Regions from separate parts of the Homo sapiens genome. Here regions 1, 2, 3, 4, 5 and 7 are each linked to region 6. The links are contacts of gene promoters, found by promoter capture Hi-C in blood cells and fetal thymus (Javierre and others, 2016). All regions are on one chromosome and are shown on one strand. Each heading gives the region's core, a stretch centred on a gene start or on the middle of the fragment in contact. The rest is flanking DNA. Distances are from core to core; before and after follow the strand shown.

Evidence for each region. The method cuts DNA at HindIII sites, captures the fragments that hold promoters and counts their contacts. A CHiCAGO score of 5 or more calls a contact.
Region 1: a contact is called between a fragment that was not itself captured here and the fragment with the promoter of H2BC17 in region 6, in 17 of 17 cell types (total CD8 T cells, non-activated CD4 T cells, M2 macrophages and 14 more). The highest score is 66.5, in total CD8 T cells.
Region 2: a contact is called between a fragment that was not itself captured here and the fragment with the promoter of H2BC17 in region 6, in 1 of 17 cell types (naive B cells). The highest score is 6.2, in naive B cells.
Region 3: a fragment that was not itself captured here is called in contact with the fragment with the promoter of H2BC17 in region 6 in 12 of 17 cell types (naive CD4 T cells, naive CD8 T cells, total CD8 T cells and 9 more); the score reaches 9.7 in naive CD4 T cells.
Region 4: a contact is called between a fragment that was not itself captured here and the fragment with the promoter of H2BC17 in region 6, in 8 of 17 cell types (total CD8 T cells, total CD4 T cells, naive CD4 T cells and 5 more). The highest score is 8.9, in total CD8 T cells.
Region 5: a fragment that was not itself captured here is called in contact with the fragment with the promoter of H2BC17 in region 6 in 1 of 17 cell types (naive B cells); the score reaches 6.1 in naive B cells.
Region 7: a contact is called between the fragment with the promoter of POM121L2 here and the fragment with the promoter of H2BC17 in region 6, in 1 of 17 cell types (total B cells). The highest score is 6.4, in total B cells.

What each region holds. Positions count from the first base shown.
Region 1 is chr6:27,158,589-27,162,385 of GRCh38, forward strand. TRT-AGT6-1 (tRNA-Thr (anticodon AGT) 6-1) reads left to right here and starts at 3,683; the gene lies at 3,683-3,756. The HindIII fragment of the contact is 878 bases long and covers 1,480-2,357 here.
Region 2 is chr6:27,293,571-27,297,194 of GRCh38, forward strand. It overlaps TRQ-CTG5-1 (tRNA-Gln (anticodon CTG) 5-1), which reads left to right and starts at 1,863; the gene lies at 1,863-1,934. It also overlaps the pseudogene TRS-ACT1-1. The HindIII fragment of the contact is 2,197 bases long and covers 718-2,914 here.
Region 3 is chr6:27,114,349-27,117,979 of GRCh38, forward strand. No RefSeq gene overlaps it. Among named protein-coding and RNA genes, the nearest start is that of H2BC11, 17 kb to the right of the region's middle. RefSeq lists an enhancer at 863-962. The HindIII fragment of the contact is 4,621 bases long and covers 5-3,631 here.
Region 4 is chr6:27,200,425-27,204,051 of GRCh38, forward strand. No RefSeq gene overlaps it. Among named protein-coding and RNA genes, the nearest start is that of TRV-CAC6-1, 3.9 kb to the right of the region's middle. The HindIII fragment of the contact is 4,360 bases long and covers 1-3,430 here.
Region 5 is chr6:27,231,565-27,235,591 of GRCh38, forward strand. It overlaps TRV-AAC5-1 (tRNA-Val (anticodon AAC) 5-1), which reads left to right and starts at 3,945; the gene lies at 3,945-4,017. RefSeq lists silencers at 3,909-3,958, 3,969-4,018. The HindIII fragment of the contact is 2,580 bases long and covers 662-3,241 here.
Region 6 is chr6:27,891,439-27,895,208 of GRCh38, forward strand. It overlaps H2BC17 (H2B clustered histone 17), which reads left to right and starts at 1,987. Exons shown (of 1, transcript NM_003527.4): 1 at 1,987-2,453. The coding sequence starts at 2,025. The coding sequence ends at 2,405. H2AC17 (H2A clustered histone 17) reads right to left here and starts at 1,747. Exons shown (of 1, transcript NM_003514.2): 1 at 1,261-1,747. The coding sequence starts at 1,711. The coding sequence ends at 1,319. RefSeq lists enhancers at 873-1,416, 1,021-1,070, 1,417-1,960, 1,981-2,220, 2,611-2,750 and 1 more. The HindIII fragment of the contact is 3,889 bases long and covers 1,819-3,770 here.
Region 7 is chr6:27,310,166-27,314,156 of GRCh38, forward strand. POM121L2 (POM121 transmembrane nucleoporin like 2) reads right to left here and starts at 2,108. Exons shown (of 1, transcript NM_033482.4): 1 at 1-2,108. The coding sequence starts at 2,005. LOC105375107 reads left to right here and starts at 2,004. Exons shown (of 3, transcript XM_011515048.2): 1 at 2,004-2,027; 2 at 2,158-2,449; 3 at 2,680-3,571. The coding sequence starts at 2,004. The coding sequence ends at 3,047. RefSeq lists a silencer at 2,165-2,459. The HindIII fragment of the contact is 14,547 bases long and covers 1-3,991 here.

The sequences.
Region 1 (3,797 bases), core at 669-3,168, 730 kb before region 6:
AGATCTTTCTTAAAACACAAAAGACAAATTATTAATCACGCGTTTCTAAGTATCCTAGCTGGACCAATGCTGAAAAACTGTAACCTTTGATCATCTGGAGAAAATTAAAGAAATTTGAGTAATTGAAGGAATTTGGGTGGGGGGGAATAATGGCCCAGAAGAACAGCCCCCATTTCTAGCCCGTTCAGTTTCTAGAATGAGTTCTAAAGAGCCAAGTAGACTGGGTGAGGCGGGAGTGGAGGAGAGCTGATCTGAGATACGGAGGTGGCTGGAAAGAAGTAGTTGGTGCTACCTAGGACCAGTAGGAGGTGGCTGGAGACAGGCAGATCCCCAGAGGCGCTTCCATGAGCCCAGTTCTAGTTAGTAGCACAGCACTCTGAGAACACATTAATGGCACTTCGTCCCTCCTGGCCCTGGTGGAAGGTTAGTATTCAAACAGGTGTGGTGGCTCATGCCTATAATCCCAGCACTTTGGGAGGCCGAGGCGGGCAGATCACCTGAGGTCGGGAGTTCGAGACCAGCATGGCCAACATGGTGAAACCCCGTCTCTACTAAAAATACAAAAATTAGCTTGGCATAGTGGCATAGGCCTGTAGTCCCAGCTATTCGGAAGGCTAAGGCACGAGAATTGCCTGAACCCAGGCAGTGGAAGTTGCAGTAAGCCAAGATCACACCACTGCACTCCAGCCTGAGTGACAGAGTAAGACTCGGTCTCAAAAAAAAAGAATACTCATACTTTTAGCAACTTATCAAAAATTTCAGCAAAAGAGATTTGTTCTTTCCTTCTTGGGGCTAAAATAGCCCCCATTTCTTCTCCAACTGTCCATCCAGCTGACATGGATTCTGAAACTCAGAGATATTGTAATTGAGCTGAGCTGCCTTATACTGTAGGATATCATCTCTCCAACAGGTCAGGTTCTAGGCCTCTTCTCAGTAATTTAATAGCATTTGTAGTGGTTATTCATGTTCACTTGTATCACATTCTACTTCAATTTTCTTTTTAGTCTATTTTATCTTGACTCAGTCTTACAAGAGTGAAGACAGGGATCAAGTATGTATTGACCCTAAAGGATCAGTTCTTGTCAATTATTTTGCCACAAGTGAATGATAAAACTGCTAAAGCAATAAACATTTTGATCTTGCAATTCTCCAGAACACATTTTCTCAGATCTTACTGGCCTGAGTAGCAGAAATCTATGGACTCTGACTCAGAGGCTATCTCTTAGTGAGAGAGCTAGGGTCCTAGATCTATTACAGAATAAAATTGTAGTGACAAGTGAGTAATAGGGCTCAATAAAACCCATGCTGTATGATTTGCTCGAAAAGTAGAGAGCTTGCTTGGCGTGTACCATATGATACTCAGTGCAAAGCACATGTTTATCTTAGAGGTGTGAAGTTCTCTGGTTCACAATAATGTTTTGCAGCTTTGAGTGAGCATTGCTAGAAATCTGGTATAAACAGGGGAATTGTGAGATTAAAAGCTTGCATTTTATGAATGCACTAATATTGGTATGGAAGTATCTTACACAGTCTGCCAACCACATTTTCAGAAAGAAAACTGTTTTACTCTACCTATGGCATTCATGGTCTTGAAATGACTTTTTAATATTTCTATGTTTTATCATTCTCATCTCTCCATGGAAATTAATGAAAGTTACCACCTTCTAAGATTGTTCTAAAGATTTAAGGGTGGTAAATGCATGATGGCACTAGCTCAGTAAGGTACAAACAAACAAACAAAATAATAAAATAAGCCATTTTTGGAGCTAAATAAATAAATATCATTGCTACTTAAGTGGTGGAAGGCCTTCATGCAGTAGTAATATTGCAAAGACTGGTACCAGACTCAGCATCTATTTAACTTGACTACAATCCTGTGCTTCTTTGATGCTGATAAGGTAGTTCTAACAATAATAAGAAGGGTTTTGTCTGTCCTCAGTATTGAGGCTTATTTGAAGATCTGAGCAAGGCTTTTTATAAGGCGGATGTTGGCCAAAATGTTTGCTATGATAGGCCATAAGTTTAGGGAAGACACAGATGTTGTGGGAAAAGGTAGGTTCTAGAAAGAATAGCCCCAAAAGTCAGGGAATCAGGAAAAGAACTTTCCTTCTAATGTCAGCAGAAATCCGGATGAAACACTTTAAGCAGGGGTTTCGTAGTGTTAATTTCTCTCAAGGGTGCAGCAATCTATCTGTAGCCACACCACTCCAGCACCTACTTTATGTTGAAATGTCTGCTTGTATCTTGGAAAGATTTCCAAAAGGAGAAACAAAGGGCTTTTCTTCCAGGGTTTTACACATACCAAGATTTATGAAACACCTGTCAGTGAGAAACAGAAGTCGGGGAATACATAACTAAGCTTCACAAAAAACCTCAGCCAATAAAGCTGAAAAATTGGTATAACCTGGCTTTGTGATTAGCTAGGTAGTGAGTAGAGGTTCATGACCCACAGGAAATAAATCAGAAGCAACACCAGGCTTGGTTAAAAAATAAAAACTCAACCTCAACCTAAGTAATTTCTCATCTTTCCAGGGTCTTGCATTTTGTGGATGCTTAATGAATGCATATGCAAAGCACCAGGCAGTTATTTAAATATTTCAGGATATTGGTTTCATCTGCTTTTCCCCATGCTAAGCTGCATTCAGCTAAACATTCCATGACTCCTTCTGCATTCATTAAACTGACAAAGAACCTGAGATAAAAGGTCATGCAACTCTGTGAGGCCCAAGTGAGAGGTTCCCACAGCATCCTGTGAGGGCTATCACATTGTACTCTACTTTGTTCTCTACTTCTCTGTATCATCCACGCAGTTTTACAATCTATGTGGGTCTAGAAATTGAGTCTATTTTAACCCAGCAGGCAAATGAGCAGAACAAGACTATGACAGAAGCAAAGATATCCATCCAGGAGAACTCCCTGTGTACACCTAACTCATTGTTTCTAACAGCAGATCTCCTGTTGAGACCAAAGCTGTCTTTGAAACAGAGGGTCTCAAGGTGCCTAGTTTGGGTAAGTGGGAAGCAGGGTGACCACAGATCTCCACGACATCACTGTGTCCTCGTCTAGGCTCACTTTCTTGTGCCAGATTAGATAAAATAGAAGGAAGCATAATGGTTTTACTCAATTGCAGTGAATTAGCTCAGAAGGTAGTGTCGTGGGTTCTATAACCCAGCGGTAAAGAGATTGGTTTCCATATCACTTGTGTTTTTGTTTGTTGTTGGATTTTTTTAGTTGGTTAGTTTGTTTTGGGGTGTTTTTTGTTGTTGTTTTATCTCCCTGTAGAACATAAATTCAATAATGGAAGAAAATTTTGCTGTTTTATTCAATGTTCTTTCTCCAATACCTAGAAAAGTACCTGAAATGCAGTAATGACTCAACATTTGTGGACAGAATGAATGCACGAACAGAGAAATAAATTTAAAATATGTTGCGATATCCAATATTTCCTGTAGGGGGAGATAGTCACCATGAAATAGAAATTTCACTCATTTCAATTTGAAATAAATTCTGAAATCTTGCATTGAAGAAAAGTATTTTTTTTAGTGTTGGAATTGCTGCTTTGTTGCTGGTTCAGAAACACAGATGTGCTTTCTTTGTCACAAAATTAAGTACACTTTTGTCAAATTGATACATTTTACAAAAATGTTATAAATACGATATATCTGAACATATGCCCAACAGGGGCCCTGTGGCTTAGCTGGTCAAAGCGCCTGTCTAGTAAACAGGAGATCCTGGGTTCGAATCCCAGCGGGGCCTTACGTGTTCAATTTTATATTTTCAATAGTATGTTGCAAATA
Region 2 (3,624 bases), core at 566-3,065, 600 kb before region 6:
AATATTTCACCGAATCTGATTCATTGTCTGCATGTATTGACTAGACATTCAGAAGGCAGCAAATATTTCCATAAATTGCTGGGCCATTAGCCACAGTTTGAAATGTTTAAGCGTCCTCTTTCAAGTCTACGAATACAGCCATTTTGCTTTGTTTTTGCGTTAAGAGGAAATTTCTCGTTATTTCTATTAAGACTCTAAAGCAACTAAGAAATTGTTCCTCCCTGTAAGACAAACAGGAATTACGTTGAAGAATTTAATACTTTCACGGAGAAGGGGCGAGGATGCGGGTGAGATGAATAACAAAAGCACAGATTTGCGGTCGGCCGGTTAGCTCAGTTGGTTAGAGCGTGCTGCTACTAATGCCAGGGTCGAGGTTTCGATCCCCGTACGGGCCTTTGGCTTTTTCCCCCCTCGAGAAATTTGGTTTTCATGCTCTAAGATGATTCAAATTAACCGTCCCCATTTCTTAACGAACCTAGAACCTAAGTTCGTTTCCGAATCATCTGAAATGCTACATCTCCCCAGGTAATAATCTTCTTCTTCTTCTTCTTCTTTTTTTAAATGTTCTTTCTGTTTCCTCCAGGAATAAGGGTTGGGGACAGAAAGCTGTTCAGAGCAGAGACCTCCAAGACTGGGAGCCTGCTTAATGAAAGGGGGGGGGGGCGGGGAAGAGTTCAAGGAGTGGAAAAATAACTGGCATTTTTTTTAAAAAAATAAAGCTTATTTGATTTCAGATTTTCCTTCCAAATTAGTCCTGAAACCTACCTTCTTTCTCAAATTGTAGAGACACAAGATAAAGAGAATAAATCCTTAGAAGGTTGTGGATATGTGTCTCTGAAAACCCTTTCGAATTTAACTGACAGACGACATTGTCCTGTGAGGAAGCTATCACTTTAAACAAGGAACACAGACTTTTTGTTTTGTTTTGTTCACAGAAACCGATTCTGTGTGTGTGTGTGTGTGTGTGTGTGTGTCTGTGTTTGTGTTTTCACATGGGCTCCTGTGTGTGTCACAAAGGGATATGCGAGGGAGAAGCAGGGAGTTTTCTTTGTGTCCGTTTGGAAGTTTACCCTGCACATATTTCTCATTGGTGAAGGGCAGTGGAAGGACCAGGGGAGCTATGCACTGTCCTGGGAAACTCCAGAGGGACCTTTGTCTACCCTTCCCCTTCTTTCCCTGAGTTGCTATCCTAGGGTTGCTGGGATCTTCCTCTAACCCAGTAGTTCAAGTGCATTTATTTCAGCTTTCTGTAAACAGCAAAGTGGCTCCCCTGTGACTTCGGTAAAATCTTTCCATAACGTGTCCTTAAAAACGCTACATGTTACCCTGGTAAAAACGATTTTTGAGAAAATAATTAGATCTATAACGAAAAGGAGTAAAGCATCTCAGGTATCTGACTCAAATTTCTCACCTGTAAAATAGAGATTATGGGTCCCATCTCACAGCGTGGTTGTGAGCCTCACAGGTAAGGTAACAATAGAAAACACTTGTCACAAAAACTGGCACACGGTAACCTGGCATACTGTGTGCCTGGCACCTGGCACACAGTCTTGTTTAACAATCTCACTTGTCTACCATTGATGAAATAGAGGCCGAGGCCCGGGGCGCCAAGCTCCTAAAGCACTTGAAAGGAGTGGTTTAGGATTAGAGGACTCCTGACAGTTGGAAGTCAACGTTTTCCATTAAGACTGTGGTGTAAAAGGTGTTGAATGTAGGCATGTGGCAGGTAAGCGTCTTCTTGACTTAATCCTCCAAGAGGAAAAGCAGAATGCACCCATCACCCAAACTATGGGGCGGAGGGAAGGAACCTAAAGTGGAGAAATAGGTCACCTATGACTTTAGGAAATGCTAGTTCAGCTTCAGGTTCCATGGTGTAATGGTTAGCACTCTGGACTCTGAATCCGGTAATCCGAGTTCAAATCTCGGTGGAACCTTGGATTTAGTCCTCTGCAGTCAAATCCCCATCGTCTCTCCACAATCTATACTGTTGCTCATACAAATCACTCGACCAAATTTTATTCCTGGTATTTCCACGTCACATCTCTTGAGCGGAGTATCTTTAGCTGCCAACCAAATAATAACTTTCTTTTTGCTGCGCACAATTTGTTCTTTGGAGAAAAAAGAGAGAAGCCTCAAAAGGAAATGCACGAGGCAGTCGCTCGAGTCCTGCTGGAACTGCAAATCAAAGTCTCCAGAAAAGATCTGCAAACAAGTGAGGAGACAATAGATAGGAGGCTAGTGAGAAGAGAGAAAGGAAATTTGGTGATAGTCACGAACAGAGAAAAGCTGGGATGGAAACTGAGGAAAGGACTTACCCACTAAATGGGTCTGGGAGAGGTGACAGTCGCCGAAGCCGAGAGAAAACTGTCCTCAGACAAGACCACAAGGGGATAGAAGCTCAACTTGTGAGGGCTGGGCAGATAGAACAGGTGACGGGAAAGATACAACTGGCGATAGTCAATAGTCAATAGAGATAGATGCTGTTTCGAGTTTGCACAAGCAAGTTTTACTTGGACAGAGAAGAGGGGGAAATGAGCTGAAAAGACTCCCTTTCCCAGGATAACAGAGTTTACTCTACGCCCTCTCCCCGCCAATCTCCCCAGCCACCAACCTCCCGCAGCGTTTCCTAGTGAGGGTTCCCTGAGCTCATTGCTGGGCGCTCAGCAACTCGGCTTTCTTGGCATTTCCGTCTGGGCATGGACAAGCTCCTGAAGAAGGGGTTTCAGAGCTCGGACCCTCTTAGACAGATTGTAGAAGTTCAGTCACCCGGAAATTGCTGGGGCGGTTTGGTTTTGGAGAGAGGCGGGGACGAAAGAAGAAAGCTGTGAGCGAGGAGAGAAGGCAGGGAATGTGAACAGGAAAAAGCTCTTGCGCTAAGGAATGTCAGAGAAGCCAGCGCCCGGTGCAGCCGAGAAGCTTAGCGACAGGGTTGCTGGGCCGGAGACCACGAGATCCTAGAGGCTACAAAGAAACATTTCCCCATATGTGTCTCCCCTACCGCGCACTAGCTCCCTATGGGATGTGAATGCTCCCTACTTCCATCTTCCCCTGCAAATCATTCTCGCCTTTTAGATAATATCTTACCGTGACAGAACAACTGGAAATGCTGGTGTCTCCAAAGTCTTCTGTAAACAAGACACAGAGATGTGTGTCTCAATTGCGTATTTTACACGATTTTATGAAGGAACTGACAAATTCCTCATTTACTTCCGACTAATAACATTCCATTTTTAACAAAACGGAACGTACATATTGGGCCATGGAAAGTTAGTGTTTTCATTTTTTTTTACAATTATTGAGACTCGTAGGAAAATTCTTGGACTTTTATCAAATATGAATACAAATACAAATATGGATATCCGTAAAGTTATATATTTTACGTCCTCCCAAATCTCCTGCTCGCCATCACTTTTATTTATTGCTAAAATTTATTTATTAAATTTAGATAAACGTAATGAGAATGTGTTGAAGATTCCACTTTAAATAATGCACCTTAAATAATCATAAAAACACCTTTTGGAAGGCTCGGACTTATTCAAAACCACAATCTACTGATCTTTTTGTTGTTAATTCCACTGAACCTTTCTTATTCCGGCTATAAGAAGTATTTATCCGCGGACAATG
Region 3 (3,631 bases), core at 1,065-3,564, 780 kb before region 6:
CCAAAGCTTCAGTGTACAACCAGTTAGTCACCAAGAAAACATGGCTCTGAAAAGAGCCTTTGGCTAGTATATAGCATTACAGTATCACAACTCCAAACTTTATCTTGATGGTCAACCCGCTCATCTTGATGCTCCCTTCATGGTCTCTTCATTTTGATGGTTCCTTCCTTCAGGGTCACCAGGCTGACACAGGTGAACCCCAAAATTGGGACTTAACCCTGGAGGGCTTTTGGCTTCAGAGTTAATTTAAAAACACTTCCTAGACCAATAGTGTACAGCAAACTGCTCCATAAACAAAGGGCGACCTGTGTGCTAACCCACAGGCAGCACAGCCTGTAGTAGTAGTATACAGAAAAGTGGGTGCTCCACAGAGCACAAGCTAACCCACAGGCAGAGCAGCCAAGTAGCAGCATGCAGCAAAGTGGGCGCTCCACACAGCACAAGCTAACGCACAGGCAGAGCAGCCCAGAGTAGCAGCATGCAGCATAATAGGTGCTCCACAGAGCAAGGCTCACCCATAGAGCATCCCAGAGTAGCAGCATAGTACAGCAAAGCGGGTGCTCCACAAAGCAAGGCTAACCCATAGGCAGAGAAGCCTACAGCAACTGTGTACAGCAAGGTGGATGCTGCAGAAAGCACAACTAACCCACAGGCAGAACAGCCCAGAATAGCAGTGTACAGCAAAGTGGATGCTCCACCAGTAGAACAGACAGGAAGGGCAGGAGCAGTGTTCAGCAACAGGAGCAGTCCAGAGCAGGAGTCAGAGCAGGAGCCAGAACTGAAGAAAGAGCCACAGTAAAGCACACAGGCTAGCTATATTTATACCCACTATTAATTATATGCTAATTAAGTAGTGTGTTATTCAGAATTTTCTAGAAAAGGGGTGGGGGGAGCTCCCAGAACCCTATAGGGTAACTTCTGAGTCATGTCCATGGCATTTGTAAACTGTCATGGCGCCGATGGGAGTGTCTTTATTCTAATGAGCTGTGAGGGCAACTAGAGGTTGCTTTGTCACCATCTGCTGGTTTCAGCCAGCTGTTTTGTTTTGTTTTGTTTGAGACTGAGTCTGGCTCTATTGCCCAGGCTGGAGTGCAGTGGCTCGATCTTGACTCACTGCAACCTCCACCTCCCGGGTTCAAGCAATTCTCATGCCTCAGCCTCCCTAGTAGCTGGTATTACAGGTGCATGCCACCATGCCCAGCTAATTTTTGTATTTTTAGTAGAGATGGGGTTTCACCATATTGGCCAGGCTGGTCTCGAACTCCTGACCTTAGGTGATCTGCCCACATCAGCGTCCTGAAGTGTTGTGATTACAGGTGTGAGCCACTGCACCCAGCCAGGGTTTTTTGTTTTTGAGACAGGGTCTTGCTCTGTCGCCCCAGCTGGAGTGCAGTGGCACAATCGTAGCTCACTGCTGCCTTGATCTCCCAGGCTCAAGCAATCCTCCCACCTCAGCCCCACAAGCAGCTGAGACTACACATGTAGGCCACCATGTCTCGCTAATTTTTTTTTAACTTACATTTTTAGGGATGGAGTTCTCACTATGTTGCCCAGCTGATATCGAACTTCTAGGCTCAGGGGATCCTCCCACCTCAGCCTCTCAAAGCACTGGGATTATAGGTGTGAGCCACCACTCTGCTGAGGTTTTTTTGTTGTTTTTTTTTTACTGCATCCTGTTTTTGATCAGCATGGTCATTACCGGTGCTTGGAAAAGAAGTCCTGCTGATCTCCTACCTCACTTTGGAAAATTCTTTTCAAGATTAAGTATATGACTATTTATAAAGAACTTAGTACAGTGAGACCAATGATCAATTATTTAAAGTTGTTTTACTCTTGTTAGTGTCATTATTAAATTTTTTAATTCTTTTCATTATTCCGTATCCCATGTTGTTGTATTTTCACAGTGAATATGAGTCTGCATCCAGTTATGGCCAATGACTTCATATTCTTTTGTGATCTATGGAGTTTCAGATGTGAGTACATTCAGACAAGACAAGACCATCACAAACCACTGAGATATATTCATCTCTGCTGCTTGTGACCTGGGGTCCTCCTTCTTCCCCTCTGACTGCCACTATTGGGAGGCAGAAGTAGGAAGAACAACAGAATGGGCTGTGGGTGTAATTTTATCATTTTTTTTTAGAATTACTTTTTTTTTTTTTTACATTTTTGCTTTTAAAAATAGTTTTGCTAAAGTATAATTGGCATATGATAAACTGCACATAAAGTATACATGTTAATGAGTGTGACATAAGTATTCATATGAACCCGTTACCCTAATCAAGACACTGAACTTGCTGGGCACAGTGGTTCACGCCTGTAATCCCAGCACTTCAGGAGGCCGAGGCGGGCGAATCACCTGAGGTCAGGAGTTCGAGACCAGCCTGACTAACATGGTGAAACCCCATCTCTACTAAAAATACAAAAATTAGCCGGGCATGGTGGCATATGCCTGTAATCCCAACTACTCAGGAGGCTGAAGCAGGAGAATCACTTGAACCCGGGAGGCAGAGATGGCAGGGAGCCAAGATCACGCCATTGCACTCGAGCCTGGGCAACAGAGCAACACTCTGTCTCAAAAAAAAAAAAAAAAAAGTGAACTTATCACCTCTAAAATGTACTTGTCCCCCTTTGTAATACCTTTCTCCTATCTCACTTTGTCCCCCAACTCAAAGGAACCACTGATCTAACCTTTGTCACTGTAGATTAGTTTGTATTTTCTAGTTTTGTAAAAATAGAATCCAGTATGTACTGTATTTTGATCAGTTTCTTTTACTCAGCATAATTATTTACTCAGCAGTCCTTGCTGGTTTCATGATGTAAGTGGTCGTGTGGGGAAAGTCCACATGGCCAGGAGCTTCAAGCTCCTCTAGGAAGTGCGGGCAGCCTCTCAGAATTAAAGGCGTCTTCCAGCCAGCAACCAGCAAGAAGCGGGTGTCCTCATACCTAAAGCTGCAAGGAAATGAATTCCGCCAACAACCTGAGTGAGCTTGGACATGGATTCTTCCCCAGTCAAGTGTCTAGATGAGAATGCATCCTGGTGGGACACTTCAATTAGTCTTGTGAGACCCTAAGCAAAAGACCTAACTAAGTCATGCCCAGACTCCTGATCATTTATTATCCTGAGATAATAAACGTATGTTGTTTTGAGACCCTGAAGTTTGTGCTAATGTATTTTGCAGCAACAAAAAACTAACATATTTTAGGCTGGGCACAGTGGCTAACACTGTAATCCCAGTGCTTTGGGAGGCCTAGGTGGAAGGATCACTTGAGACCACTAGTTCAAGACCAGCCTGGGCAATAGTGAGAAACTGCACCACCCCCCCACAACCCCTCGTCTCCACAAAAAAATTTCTAAAAATTAGCTGGGTGTGGTGGCACACACTTATAGTCCCAGCTACTCAGGAGGCTGAGGCAGGAGGATGGTTTGAACCCAGAAGTTCAAGGCTACAGCGAGCTATGATTGCACCACTGTGCCCCAGCCTGGGTGACAAAGTGAGACTCCATCTCAAACAAAAAGAAAAAGAAGAGTAACATATTTTGAATCAACAGTTTGTTTCTTTTGTTGCTTAATAGTATTTCTTTGCAGGGATATACCACAATATTTTAGCCATTCATCTATTGATGAACA
Region 4 (3,627 bases), core at 1-2,500, 690 kb before region 6:
AATTTTTCTCCTCATCAATTAATATAATAATGTGATTTTCTTCCTTTGGTGTGACTATGGTACATTAATTACGTTGACTAATTTTCAAATGTTGAACAACCCTAGCATTCTTTTTTTTTTTTTTTTTTAGACGGAGTCTTGCTCTGTCATCCAGGCTGGAGTTCAAAGGCGAGATCTTTGCTCACTGCAACCTCAGCTTCCCAGGTTGAAGTGATTCTCGTACCTCAGCCTCCAGAGTAGCTGGAATTACAGGCACATGCCACCATGCCCGGCTAATGTTTTGCATTTTTAGTAGAAACAGGGTTTCCCAGCGTGGGCCAGGCTGGTCATAGAACTCCTGACCTCAAGTTATACTCCTGCCTTGGCCTCCCAGACCTCTGAAAGTGCTGGGATTACAAGTGTGAGCAACAACGCCTGGCCATGAACCACCCCTGCATTCTACTTGGTGATTATCTTGGTTTGCTAGGGCTACCATAGATGGGTGGACTTAAACAATGGAAATGTATTTTCTCGCAGCTGAGCCTAGAAATCCAAGAGCAAGGTGTCAGCCGGTTTGATTCCTTTTGAGGTAGCTCTCCTTGACTTGCAGAAGGCTGCCTTCTCGTTGTGTCCTCCCATGATTAACCACTCAGTCTGCGTGTTGCCTGTGTCCTAATCTCTTTTTTTTTTTGGAGACCGAGTGTCGCTCTGTCGCCCAGGCTGGAGTGCAGTGGTGCAATCTCGGCTCACTGCAACCTCTGCTTCCCGCTCAGCCTCCTACCTCCTGTCTCAGCCTCTCGAGTAGCTGGGATTACAGGCGTGTGCTAATTTTGTCAGGCCTGGCTGAATCTTGTATTTTTTTTTTAAAGTAAAGACAGAGTTTCGCCATTTTGGCCAGGCTGGTCTCGAACTACTGACCTCAGGTAGTCTGCCCGCCTCGGCCTTCCAAAGCGCTAGGATTACAGGCATGAGCCACTGCGCCCGGCCCCTAATCTCTTCTTATAAAGACACCAGTAATATTGTATTAGAGCTCATCCATATTCCCTCATTTTACTTTAATAACTTCTTTAAAGATCTTATCTCCACATATAGTCACATTCTAAGGAACTGGGAGTTAGGACTTCAGAATATACATTTTGGGAGAACACAATTCAGCCAATAACAGTCATAGTGTATAATTCTTTTTCTCTATTACTGTATTCTATTTGATAATATTGTGTTAAAAATTGTTGTATCTGTGTTGATGAGTTGTATTGGTCTGCAGTTTTCTTTTTTGTGCTGTCTTTGTCAGCCTTTATTTATTTATTTATTTTTTTGAGACGGAGTCTCTCTCTGTCACTCAGGCTGGAGTGCAGTGGCGCGATCTTGGCTCGCTGCAAGCTCCGCCTCCTGGGTTCACGCCATTCTCCTACCTCAGCCTCCCAAGTAGCTGGGACTACAGGCGCCCACCACCAAGCCCGGCTAATTTTTTTGTATTTTTATTAGAGAAGGGGTTTCACCATGTTAGCCAGAATGGTCTCCATCTCCTGACCTCGTGATCCGGCCGCCTCGGCCTCCCAAAGTGCTCGGATTACAGGCGTGACCCACCGCGCCTGGCCTATTTTTATTTTTTTGAGACAGAGTTTCGCTCGTGTTGCCCAGGCTGGAGTGCAATGGAAAGATCTCGGCTTGCTGCAACCTCCATTTCCTGGGTTCAAGCGATTCTCCTGCTCAGCCTCCCGAGGAGCTGGGATTAAAGGTGTCTGCCACCATGCCCAGCTAATTTTTGTATATTTAGCAGAGACGGGGTTTATCCATGTTGGCCAGGCTGGTCTCGAACTCCTAACCGCAGGTTATCAGCCCGCCTCGCCCTCCCAGAGTGCTGGCATTACAGGCGCGAGCCACCTAGCCTGGCCTTAAACAAGTTCTTATAAAAAGAGAGAGGAAAAGTCTCAGGATTCATACTCTTGGGATGTAAATAAATGTCTCCAGAGTGGAAGATAAGATAAGCATCTCCGTGTTTATAAGCCTTAAAATGTCTCCATGGTTCCAGGAGAGAGAAATTGTATTATCCTTCAAATGAGATAACACTTTTGAAATGTGAGAAGCAAATTGGTCTAGGGAAACCAGAACATTCACTAATGTGTCAATTTCCCTTGCCCAGAAAGCCAAACCATGCAGAACATGAAAATATTCACTTCCTGACAACACCTTTCAAAAAGAGAGATTTAAGGTAGTCTGATGTCTCATTCTATTTTCACTAATTCTTTAAATATGAAGACTTTTTCTTTTTTTCTTTTCTTCCTTTTTTTTTTTTTTTTTTTTTTCCAGATAGGGTCTTATTCTGTCACCCAGGCTGGAGTGCAGTGGAGTGATCTTGGCTCACTGCAACCTCCATCTCCCAGGTTTAAGTGCTCTTTCCTCCTCAGCCTCCCAAGTAGCTGGCACTACAGGAGTGCTCCACCACACTCAGCTAATTTTTTGTAGAGATAGGGTTTCACCATGTGGCCCAGGCTGGTGTTAAACTCCTGAGCTCAAACGATCTGCCGGCCTCGACTTCCAAAGCATGCTGGGATTATAGGTGTAAGCCACCATGCCCAGCCTTGAGGACATATTTTCAAATGTATTTTACATTTTACATTTGCCCAGTTTTCCAATTTTTAGGCAAAACATTTATCAAACAAAAGATGGCATCTTAAGCAGTTTTTTCTTTCTTATTTTATTGGTCCTTAAGGCTGATTACTCCTTTTGTGAGCTATTTCTGAAGACAGTTATTTGTCAGAAGACTGTGGGGATTTTTCTCTTATACTTATTCATTTATACAATCCAGAAATTAGCAGGATCAAAACTAGTGGAAACACATAGACACTTACAGCTTTTTATTTTAAGGTCAAAGTACTTACAACATTTTAATTTTAATTTTAATTTTTTGGGATGGAGTCTCACTCTGTTGCCTAGGCTGGAGTGCAGTGTCATAATCTCAGCTCACTGCAACCTCCACCTCCCAGGTTCAAGCAATTCTTTTGCCTCAGCCTCCTGAGTAGCTGGGATTACAGGCATCTACCACCACATCCAGCTAATTTTTGTATTTTAAGTAGAGACGAGGTTTCATCATGCTGGCCAGCCAGGCTGATCTTGAACTCCTGACCTCAGGTGATCCTGACCTCAGCCTCCCAAATTGCTGGGATTACAGGCGTAAGCCACCGTGCCCGGCCTTAAAACATTTTTAATAAGCCCACAGAGTCATTTAGCAAAGGAAGCCCACTCTTCCTTCATCCTGCAAAGTTAGTATACAGCTGCCAGAAAGAAAGACGGCTAAACTTCATCCTCTGCAAGCTATCTGTTTTTTAAACATTATCCTTATGGCCTAAGCAAGGGAGAAAAACATCTTTTCTCACCAAGTTCATGGCTGAGGCCTCTATAACAAAATACAGATTAAACAAGAGAAAAGCATACAAGTGTATTTAACATAAGCTTTGTGTGATATGAGAGACTAGAAATGAAGACCTAAAGAAACAGGGAAACATTTGTAGTTTTATGATAGGTTGACGAAGAGAAGATAGTTATGCAGAAGTATAATTGTACAAAGAGGGTGTGATGTAAGGATAATAAACTGGGGGAATTTAGCAAGGCTTACTTGTTCAGGTTCTTCTGTGTGTCCCTGTGTCT
Region 5 (4,027 bases), core at 702-3,201, 660 kb before region 6:
CCACAAACAGTAAAGCAAAACACTGATATGGTCTGCTGCACCCAAATCAAAGAAAGCCACAATGGAACAGTAAATAGACAAATACAACCAAAGTAGAAGATACTTGAAATATTTACAAATGAAAATAACTTAATCTACATGATATAGTAAGAAGCCATTAAAATCAGCAAGATCAAACAGCAAGCTCAATAGAAAATGTGTAAAGAAGCTGGGCGCGGTGTCTCAAGCCTGTAATCCTAGCACTTCGGGAGACCGAAGCTGTCGGATCACCAGGTCAGGAGTTCGAGACCAGCCTGGCCAATACGGTGAAACCCCGTTTCCACTAAAAATACAAAAATTAGCAGGGCGTGGTGGCAGGCGCCTGTAGTCTCAGCTGCTCGGGAGGCTGAGGCAGCAGAATCGCTTGAACCCAGGAGGTAGAGGTTGCAGTGAGCCGAGATTGTGCCACTGCACTCCAGTCTCGGTGACAGAGCAGGACTCTGTCTCAAAAAGAAAAAAAGAAAGAAAAGAAAATATATAAAGAATAGGGACAGGGTCCTCATCAAACCCATGATAAGAAGAACCTGAAAAGATTAACATTTTAAATATTTAATATTATCAATATAAAATGCAAGATAAAATAAGTTATTACTCAACCTACATTACATTGGAAGAATTAGAAAGCTTGATGTGTCCATTATTGCAGAAATGGGAATATGGAAGCCCTCATATCCTGCTGGTGGAAGTTTATATTAATGTAGCCATTTTGGAAAGCAGTCTAATACTTTTTACTCAAGTTAAGATTGACACACTCAATGACCTAGGTATTCGGCTCCTAGGTGTATATTCCCCCTCATGTCACAAAGATATAGATTGTATCATATGTGGATGTTAATTGCCTCACTATTTTTCCTCTTCCAGAATCAGATTCAGCCTTGAAGCCAACATTGAACAGTAGATACGTGAAGTGTGGTAAACACATAATATTAAATATTATGCAACTATGAGATGTACTAGAGTATATGTAAATGTACCAATCTTTTTTTTTTTTTTTTTTTTTCTTGAGATGGAGTCTCACTCTTTCACCCAGGCTGGAATGCAATGCCATGATCTTGGCTCACTGCAACCTCCACCTCCCTGGTTCAAGGAATTCCCCTGCCTCAGTCTCCCGAGTAGCTGGGATTACAGGCACACGCCACCACGCCCGGCTAATTTTTTTTGCATTTTTAGTAGAGATGGAGTTTCACCATGTTGGCCAGGCTGGTCTCGAGCTCCTGACCTTGTGATCTGCCTGCCTTGGCCTCCCAAAGTGCTGGGATTACAGGCCTGAGCCATAGCGCCTGGCCGCATGTACCAATCTTAAAAAGAAATTTTTTTTTAAAAAGATACTTGGCCGGGCGCGGTGGCTCACGCCTGTAATCCCAGCACTTTGGGAGGCCGAGGCGGGTGGATCATGAGGTCAGGAGATCGAGACCAGCCTGGCTAACAAGGTGAAACCCCGTCTCTACTAAAAATACAAAAAATTAGCCGGGCGCGGTGGCGGGCGCCTGTAGTCCCAGCTACTGGGGAGGCTGAGGCAGGAGAATGGCGTTGAACCCGGGAAGCGGAGCTTGCAGTGAGCCGAGATTGCGCCACTGCAGTCCGCAGTCCAGCCTGGGCGACAGAGCGAGACTCCGTCTCAAAAAAAAAAAAAAAAAAAAAAAAAAAAAAGATACTTAACACAATAAGATTTTCCCTTCTGTTAGCACTAATCATTCTGCTCTCTGGCATTCAAAATCTTGCTACTTGCTACTGCTCATCATTTTCTCATCTTTTTGTCCCTGTGTATTTATGTCTTTAAACACCCTTAATGCTTTGTATAAGTGTAGTTTGGAATAAAGAGAAAGCAAAAGCTGTGCTTAATTTGCCATCATTATAATTAGGTCTATCTGTGACTTACTATGATTTTTTCTCACCATGGAATCCTAAGGATTGGTAAAATAGTGTGTGGTGATATCCACTTGTGGTGATAGGGAACCATCATTTTATTGGGATCAAATACCAAAGAGTCTAGAAAATAAAATTTTACGTCAAATTTTCTTGTCTCTCATTTCACCACTTCAGTCTATTGAGGTTAAGCTGAAAGAACAAATATCACATCCAGGACAGAACCTCATTTGCAAGCTGCTTGCTATTTTTCTGACCACTTTCCCTAAGTTCTGACAAATGCTGGCTCAGTTACTACTATTCCGCCTTCCTTACCGCTCCAACTTTTCAAAATATAGAGCTAAAAGCCAGATCCACATGAGCTGCCCTAGAAAGACGCAAATGCCTTTATATCCTGGGCATTTTCTATTCCTGGGGTTCTGGACTCAAGACCTTCTCAGGCCATCTGAATCCCTGGCCTACTCTTTGTTGGCTGAAGCTGGCAGCTTTCCACATTTTTCACAGCTTCCATGCTAGTCTCAGAAATCAGCTGTTAATTTGGTATTCTGAATGTTTGGCAATTGTAAGCACTTGGGCTTTGTGGAGGGCCCTTTATGGAAGCCAGAAAAAAATGAGGAAATGTTAGCCAGACCCCAGAACCCTGTAGTCTGCTGGAGCAGGCAACCAGATGATAACAATTGTAAAATAATTCATTGGTCTCTCTATTATGAAATTTAAAAAGCAGGATAAAGGGATCAGTCCTTGGTTTATTTTGGATCTCCTGCAGAGCAAAACCATGACCTTCTGCATATAACACACAGTGATAATCACTACACTAACACAAAATGTCATAGCTGAGGACAGGTACAAATGCTAGAAAAAAAATGGCTACAGTAAAATCCAAGGATAGTCTCACTACAAGATAAAGTAAGGAGAGTATTTCAAGTGCTAAACAATTTTATATGCATCTCAATTGGCACAAGTTTGAAAGACCCATCAATTACAATACACTGAAAAAAGGTAAGTTTAGATATCCAAAACTGAACTCTTGATTGTTACTTGTTCTCATTCATTCATTCACTAAAGAAATGTTAATTAATTCTCTACTAAAAGTCCTAAGCCAGAGACTATTAAGTAGCTGGGAATAAAGCAGTGGACACGACAGACAAAATATCCTTTTCCTCATGGAATTTATGTTTTAATTCCTATCAAATAGCTGTTGATGATCAAATATGCTATCTTTTGACGAAAATTTTTACCATAGTTAGCAGAACTCTATCGCTTCTTTAGGATTTATAAAATCTAGCCTACTAGATGCTTTTCACTATGCTAAGGATGAGATAATTATGGATGAGGAAGCTTATCCTCATGTTCATATATATATATGTATATAAAACAGCAAAAAATACATAGTGTGAGAAGCATATATACATATATATACATATGTGTAAATATACATATGTATTTATTACCAATTACCATGTATGATATATAGATATTTGCTCATTGGTAACTGATCCTAATGAATACGGTTGTTCTGTCTTGATTTTAAACTTCCCCTTACACACCCAAGCTATTTATTTCTTGTTATACGCCTTTGCATGAACACTGCGTCTGCCTTTTGTTTCAAACCTCAAGAAAGAGTCTCATTTAGGAGTAAGCGGGACTTTGAATGAATCTCACTGACAGGCTGCTAGCATGAAGAAAAAAATACTCGAGGTCACCAATATCCTGCTTAATTTTCAGTCATCGAGAAATGAACATTAGAGCGTCTTATGAGAGCAGAGAGCAGAGAACATACCAAAAAAAAAAAATGAACTGAAATAAAATTTCCCGAGAGACTGCCTGATATTTCCCCGCCCTGTGCTTCTGAAGGAATTGAAGCTTCAGGAGAAGCATTTGCTTGATTTCGAGTTGTCGGGTTTTAAACTATGTATTCTAAGAATTAGAAAGTGTAGGGGAAAATATTACCCCTCTGCCAAAGATATACCCTGACGGAACGGATAAATTTAAAGTTCATTTTAACTAATTCAAAACTGAAAAACACTCTCACTAAGCGAGTTTCCGTAGTGTAGTGGTTATCACGTTTGCCTAACACGCGAAAGGTCCCCGGTTCGAAACCGGGCAGAAACAGAGCGTAGTT
Region 6 (3,770 bases), core at 737-3,236:
CCGTTTTGTAACTGCTTAATTAAATCTTTTAATGACTGTACCAAGACCCAGAACAAAAACAATTTAAACTTAGGCTGGCACATTCTCTAAAACACCAAAACTTTAGTTTTGTCCAGTGTGGTGTGGGGAAGGAGTTTGATAGGTGCTTGACTAAATGATACCAATAAATGGTATCTGACCTCTTCATTAACTGAGTTTAATGCAATCCAATGGCTGATTGGATTAATTATGTAAATTATTGCTTAATTTCATTAGCATGCGCGGAATTACAGGTTTGGGTCAGTGATTAGATTTTTGCCAGTGAATCTGGGTAGTTCTGACAACAGCATTTTATTAGGATGGAGATTTTAGTTGATCAAAGAACTACCAGGTTCTGGTATTGATAAAGACCCATAAAGACAACAAAAAGGTTAGTTTAACATTTATTATATTCACAGGAGCAAATGATCACCAGAAATACTTTTGTTTGGGTTTTGTTTTTCTTTTTTTGAGACGGGGTCTCGCTTTGTCACCCAGGCTGGAGTGCAGTGGCGAGGTCATGGCTCACTGAAATCTCAAATTCCTGGGACTCAAGTGTTCCTTCTGCTGTCAGTCCGCCAAATACAGGCGAGGGCCTCGCGCCTGGTATTTTTTTTCTTTCTTTTTTTTAGATGGAGTCTCGCTCTGTCGCCCAGGCTGGAGTGCAGTGGCGTGATCTCGGCTCACTGCAACCTCTGCCTCCTGGGTTCAAGCGATTCTCCTGCCTGTCTCCTTAGTAGCGCTCGCCACCACGCCCGGCTAATTTTTGTGTTTTTAGTAGGGACAGGGTTTCACCATGTTTGCCTGGGTGGTCTCGATCTCTTGACCTTGTGATACACCCTCCTCGGCCTCCCAAAGTGCTGGGATTACAGGCGTGAGCCACCGCGCCCAGTCATTTTTTTTTTAAGAGGCAGGGGTCTCGTTATCAGGGTGGTCTCGAACTCCAGGTCCCTAGAGATTTCTCCCCTCCCCACCCACCTGCCTCAGTTTCCCAAAATGCTAAGGACGCATAAACCACCGCGCCCGGCCCCAAGTTTTTTAAAGACCCAGGACAGTTTGTGGGGAGGGGACAATTAAGGAGGTTCCTTCATGTTATAAGGTAGCAGTTGGATAGTATTTACTAGGCCTGATTCAATACTTTTATTTTACCCAATAGGAAAGTAATGGCCTCAGTGCTTGAACTCGGCCACAAATTTCTGATAGGTTTGGAGAACAGAGTGCTCAGTTCTTCCGTAGAAATGGTGGGTGGCTCTGAAAAGAGCCTTTTGTCTTGTAAGTTTACATTTTTAAAGTTCAGCCCTTACTTGCCCTTAGCTTTGTGGTGGCTCTCAGTCTTCTTGGGGAGCAGTACGGCCTGGATGTTAGGCAGAACACCGCCCTGAGCGATGGTAACTTTACCAAGCAGCTTGTTGAGCTCCTCGTCGTTGCGGATGGCCAGCTGCAAGTGGCGCGGGATGATGCGGGTCTTTTTGTTGTCGCGGGCTGCGTTGCCCGCCAGCTCCAGGATCTCGGCAGTTAGGTACTCCAGCACCGCCGCCAGGTAAACCGGCGCGCCGGCCCCGACCCGCTCAGCGTAGTTGCCCTTGCGGAGCAGGCGGTGCACTCGTCCTACAGGAAATTGGAGCCCAGCTCTAGAGGAGCGGGTTTTGGCCTTGGCGCGAGCCTTGCCGCCCTGCTTGCCACGTCCAGACATGGTAAAACGACCTGTGGCCTAAGTCAGAAAGTGAGTGAAAGGAACCTACAGGGACGCGCATTTTATAGCAGCTGCTGGGCGCGAAAAAGAAGCTGGGCCATTGGCTAAGCTTGCAGCTTCCTCTTAATGCAAATGAGCTTTCTGAATATACGTGTTTTGATTGGACTATATTGATATTAACGTCATCTGAGTAACTTCCAATCAGACAGAAGAATTTCTCAATCTCATCTGCATATAGACTTGTAAATAAATAGGGCATAACCCAGCTTGTCCTCATTCTTGTTATTTGAGTGCTCTTTCACTCTCCTCCGCCATGCCCGACCCGGCTAAATCTGCTCCTGCCCCCAAAAAGGGCTCCAAGAAAGCCGTAACCAAGGCCCAGAAAAAGGACGGCAAGAAGCGCAAGCGCAGCCGCAAAGAGAGTTACTCTATCTACGTGTACAAGGTGCTGAAGCAAGTCCACCCCGACACCGGCATCTCATCGAAGGCCATGGGCATCATGAACTCCTTCGTCAATGACATCTTTGAGCGCATCGCTGGCGAGGCTTCCCGCCTGGCGCATTACAACAAGCGCTCGACCATCACCTCCAGGGAGATCCAGACGGCCGTGCGCCTGCTGCTGCCCGGGGAGCTGGCCAAGCACGCCGTGTCCGAGGGCACAAAGGCCGTCACCAAGTACACCAGCTCCAAGTGAGCTCTCGCAGCTGCCAGCAATCCAAAGGCTCTTTTCAGAGCCACTCACGCTTCCAGAGAAAGAGCCTGTGCATTTTGCTTGTAGTCTTTTGGGTGGACTCCGGCCGGCCTCCATTAGGAGGGAAGACGGCGGGAAAAGGTAAGCTAAGCTCCCTAGGCTTTTTGCGTGTGAGTATAGACGCTCCATCAGACAAATTTAGCTTGGGTTCTTAGATACCCTTGGGGAAAAAGGCTTGCAGTTGTGCTTTAAGCTATAATTACAAGTTTGCTTTCGGTTTTCGGTTACTCTTTCCTTTTGTGTTGTTTTTTTTTTTTTTTTTTAAATGGAGTCTTGGCTCTGTCGCCCAGGATAGAGTGCAGTGCCGCGATCTCGGCTCACTGTAAGCTCCGTCTCCCGGGTTCAACCAATTCTGCTTCGGCCTCCTAAGTAGCTGGGATTACAGGCGCCCGCCACCGTGCCCGACTAATTATTGCATTTTTAGTAGAGACGGAGTTTTACCGTCTTGACCAGGCTAGTCTCGAACTCCTGACTTCGTGATCCACCCATCTCGGCCTCCCAAAATGTTGGGATATCAGGCGTGAGCCATCGCGCGCGGCCGGGTTATTCTTTCAGTGCCTGTAACGTCCCCCTTCTTTGATTGGTCAACGCTCTATTTGAAAAGCCCGCCAAGGGCTGCAATTTGCCAGATAGTCTCATCCGGGTTGTTTTTCGAAGAGGTTCTCCCGGAATGGAAATGACCGTTATCTGCAGGAGTGCATCGGACTCTGGCGCCAAGAGCTGGAAGCTGTGAATTAACCGTCCCTCTTACTGCAGTTGTACGGATCCTGGGTGACATTGACTTACCGGTGTCCATTTTCCATACACTTTAGAGAATAGGCATCTCGTCTGGCATCGCTGCAGATATGTTAGGGTGGGTTGAAATTATTGGTGTCAAAGCGGGACGGGAAACATTAAAGGCTAAGGAAGCTCCTTTAGGATAAAATGTTGAACAAAGAACCTGGCAACTTGGGAAAGCCGCTTTTTTGCAATGTTAATCAGTTGGCCTTGGGGAGGGAGGTGTGCCAGGATTAGCTGGGGCGGGGGCAGCGTTCAGGCTGGGATTTTAAAGTCCATGATTAGGAATCCTGAGATAGAAGTTGGAGAACCCCGCGTTTAAAGAGAAGCGGACCCCAGAAGAGATCACAGAAATAGGAGGTAAACCAAGAGCGTGCGAGTACAAGGGAGTGGAGACTTTTCAAGGCATGATCCCCTCTTCTCAACAGTGCCTGAATTCTCATAGCATTGCATCCTCTGCCACTGCGTTATCCCCTCTTCAATAAATTACTTCTATTGTAAATCTTTAGCAGCAAAATAGCAAGCCCCTCC
Region 7 (3,991 bases), core at 858-3,357, 580 kb before region 6:
TCCCAAGCAGGAAAGTGTCGCAAGTGGAAGGGACAGAATAAGTGTTGCCTACGGCACTGGTGACATTCACTACACCAAAATCCAAAGGTGGCTTAAAAACAGAGTCTTTAGATGTGCTGGCTAGGGTGGTGGACATGACCACAGAGGTGGCCTTGACCAGGCCATGGAAATGATGGGTAGAAGCATGAGTAAATGGAGGAGGGGTCTGCTTGGAGGAGAAAGGAGCTATCATGGGCGTAGTTTTAAGTGGATCTATGCTGCCAAAGATAGGCTTGAAGGTAGGAGTTAAGGTACCCTGAATTGTGGAAAGGGAAGAGATTGAAGATGCTGCAGCTGTGACTGAAATTCTGGAATATGAGGAGCTTCCAATCTCGCTGTTGTGCAGGGGCCCCAAAATCGGTTTTAACATGAGGTGAGCAGAAGTTGCATCAGGAGGTGCAGATGCAGAAAGATGGGATGTTGGGCTACTCACCATTCCAAGCAAAGTACTTTGGATGGTGGGTGGTGCAGGTGGGTCTGGGGGCATGGGAGACCTGTCAGCCTGAGAGGTTGAAGGCGGCCAGGTGGTGTCAGTAACTGGTAATGTGGGAGAGGTGGGGGTCAGCAGGATGAAAGTAGCTGTGGGCTTTGAGTCTGGAGAGGTGCCTGGAAGGAGCTCTGACTGTGAGCACCCAGGTGGGGTCGGTAGGCTGGGTGTCTTCAAAGGAGAATGGGCCACACTGGTTGCCTCTCCCGTGGACTGTGGAGAGGCCAGTGGACCTAGAGACTTCTGCATTTTTCTTAAGTTTTCCAACTGAGGATTTGCTCCCTGGGTTAGATCTGTTTCTGAAGAAGGCAGAGCAAGAGACAAGGAAGGCTGAATAGCAAGCCAAGTCTCAGGGAAAGGGTCTGTGTTGACCTCAGTTGTATCTTCTCCTGCGTTGTTGCTTACCTGTAGCTCAGCTTTCTTCCCCAAAGTCAAGTTCTCATCAGAGACTGCATAACCAAGCTGGGGAGGTGGGATCTCTGACACCAGGTTCTCAGGGCTAGACGGCAGCTGTGGAATCTTCTGGTTTTGCTGCCCAGAACTTTCAGATCCTCCTAGGGACTCAAAATCTGATACCAGTGGGACTGGAGAGGAAGGCCGATGACAACTTTTTTCCTTTTTTATTGGCCACTCTGGTGTCTCGAATGATACACTGGGAACACTTCTCTTCCAAGGGTCTGAGAAATTTCTGCAAGAGCTGTAAGAGCTGCCAATAGCATTCCTTTTGGAGCTGAGGGTGCCACCTCTGTATATGCTGGCCAAGGAGCTCATGGAGGAGCAATTGGGCCTCTTAGTCAAGCTGTGATCTGAGCCCCAGGAGTGGAGACTTCTCTTCAGCGGCCCAGGCCTGGGCACAAAAGAAGTGAGGGTTCCATTTTTCATCAGGGGCTTAAATGCCGATGGTCTGGTCTCTGGACTCCTTCTCTTACTGTCCAGACTCTCAGGGAATAGTGGTTCTTCCAACCTCCCTTTCCCTTTTCTGCACTCTCTGAGGGCCCTCAACACTGTCTCCTTTGAACATGGATCTGCGAGCTCCTCAGAGGGCGGGAGTCCTGCAAGGGCAATTACATCTTCAGGAGAAGTGGAAGGGGGCACTCTCTGGTCAGGAGGAGTGATCCTGATGGTCACTGGGCTCCAAATTGGCCTGGGATGTCGAAGAGACCAAATAGTCCGCTTTAAGTAACTTTCCCACCAGTCTGAAGGGAGAGGCCCCAGGGGGGAATTCTGGGACTTCTTCATGGGAAAGCGCCTCCAGGCCTCGTTGGCCAGCCACGTGGTTGGATTGGCAGGATCCAGGTTTGGCCGCCTCCTCACAGGTCTATACCGTGGGGCAGGGTGGGCGCGGTGGACGAACTGAACCCGATGAACTTGGTGAAGGGGCTGAGGTGGCCGGCGTTTCGTGGGCCTCTCGGGCAAGTCGGTGCGCACCTGGGCTGGGGACGAGGGCGAAAGTTCCAGTTTGCTCAGGAAACTGCCCATGAGGAGAGATGAGGCGCGGGCAGTGAGTTCAAGCACGGTTTTGGCTTCCGAGGTTTCGGACGTCTGCAGAATCGGACAGAGTCGAAGAGCGCAGTGTTCGGTTGACGGTTGGGATTCACGCGCTAGGAAAGCGCGAGTCTCAGGGTGCTTAGCACTCTCCAGGCCCGGCACCCGCGGGAACGGGGGACACGCGGGACTTCGGCAGTCCCAGTAACTTGCTTTGCTGTTCTGAGACCTCAGCGGGGCGGTCAGACCTCTGCTGTCTCCGCAGCGAGTTGCAGTACTTGGCGCGGGGAGAGGAACTCGAGAGGAAGCTCACTGCGCCTCGCCCCTGGCGTCGGCAGCGGCTGTCTGGGACCCTGTGGTCCGGATTCACCAAGTGGCGCAGAGCTGGAATCGAGTGGGTGCACAGTTTCCAGGCTCCGACTATTACTGGCCTCGAAGGTACAGGCTCAGGCGGCTCAGGGCCCCGGCGCAGATCTGTCGGCCCGCGGGATCCCCGGAGTCTGAGTGGGGAGCACTATCCGCACCCCGTAGAGTGAGTGCGGGCGGCTTTCGCAGGTGCTCAGGACTGGAGATCTGGACCGGTGGCTGTGCCGCCCGGATGGCATTTGTGGCACTAGCAGTCGGGAAAGCAGCTGATTGAGGATTTCCGCGTTTCTCTTTTTTTGCAGATCGTGACGCCGCCAGTAGGTGTCAGTCATTTGCCGCACAGCCACCTTTGAGATCCACCTGTGTCTCCCAGCGGCCGAATCCAGGTTTCCTTCCTATTCGCACTTGGAGAACTCATGCAGATTGCCGTCAGGAGTGGCCTCAGAGATCCGGAGTGGGCGAATGGGAAATCGCATCTTACGGCCCAGAACCTGAGCCCTCCACAAGCACTTGGCTCAGTCCCTTGCTCAGGCCACCTCCTGTTCTCTTCTGCTCTGTGAAAGACACTGTTAAGAGAATGAAAAGACACGCCACAGACTGGAGAAAATATTTGCATAATACGTATGTATCTGCTGAAGCACTGGTATACAAAATATACATAGAATGTTAAAACTCATAATAAGGTAAAAAATTAATGGGCAAAATATTTAAACAGAAACCCCGCCAAAGAAGATATGCAGATGGTAAACAGTATAAAAAGATGCCAAACATCATTGACATATGCTATATGTCAATATTTAGCTATATATAACTAAACATCAGTAAATACTTCTGATTGCAATTTAAACATCAGTAAGATACCATAATTGCAAATTAAACATCAGTAAGATATTACTACACACCATTCAATTGGCTAAAATTCAAAACACCACATGCTAAGGAGGAGGTGGAGTAACAGGTACTCTCATTCATTACTGATGAGAATGCAAAATGGTACAGCCACTTTGGAGGACAGTATGGCAATTTCTTACAAAGCTAAAACACAGTCCTACAATACAATTCAACCACCACAATCCACGTGTTTATCCAAATGAGCTTAAAGTGAATGTCCACATAAGGACCTGCATGTGAATGTTTATAGAAGTTTTATTCATAGTTGCCAAAAATTGGAAGCAACCAAGAAGTCCTTCAACAGGCAAATGAATAAACTGTGGCATAACCATACAATGGAATATTATTCAACACTAAAAAGAAATGCACTATCAAGTCACGAAAAGATATAGAGGAACCTAAAATCCATATTGCTAAGTGAATGGAACCATCTGAAAAGGCTACATATGACTTCAAATATATGACAATCTGGAAAAGGCAAAACAATAGAGATAGCAAACAGAGTGCAACCGTGGTTGCAGGAGAGGTGGTAAAGAAATGTGGGATACCATTAAGCACACCAACATACACAAAATGAAAGCACTAGGAAAGGAAAGAGAGAAAGGAGTAGAAAAAATTGTCAAAGAGAGTGGCTGAAAACTTCCCAATCTAATTGAAAAACATTAATCTACATGTCCAGAAAGCGCAACAAATTCTACATAGGATTATACAAAGAGTTCCACA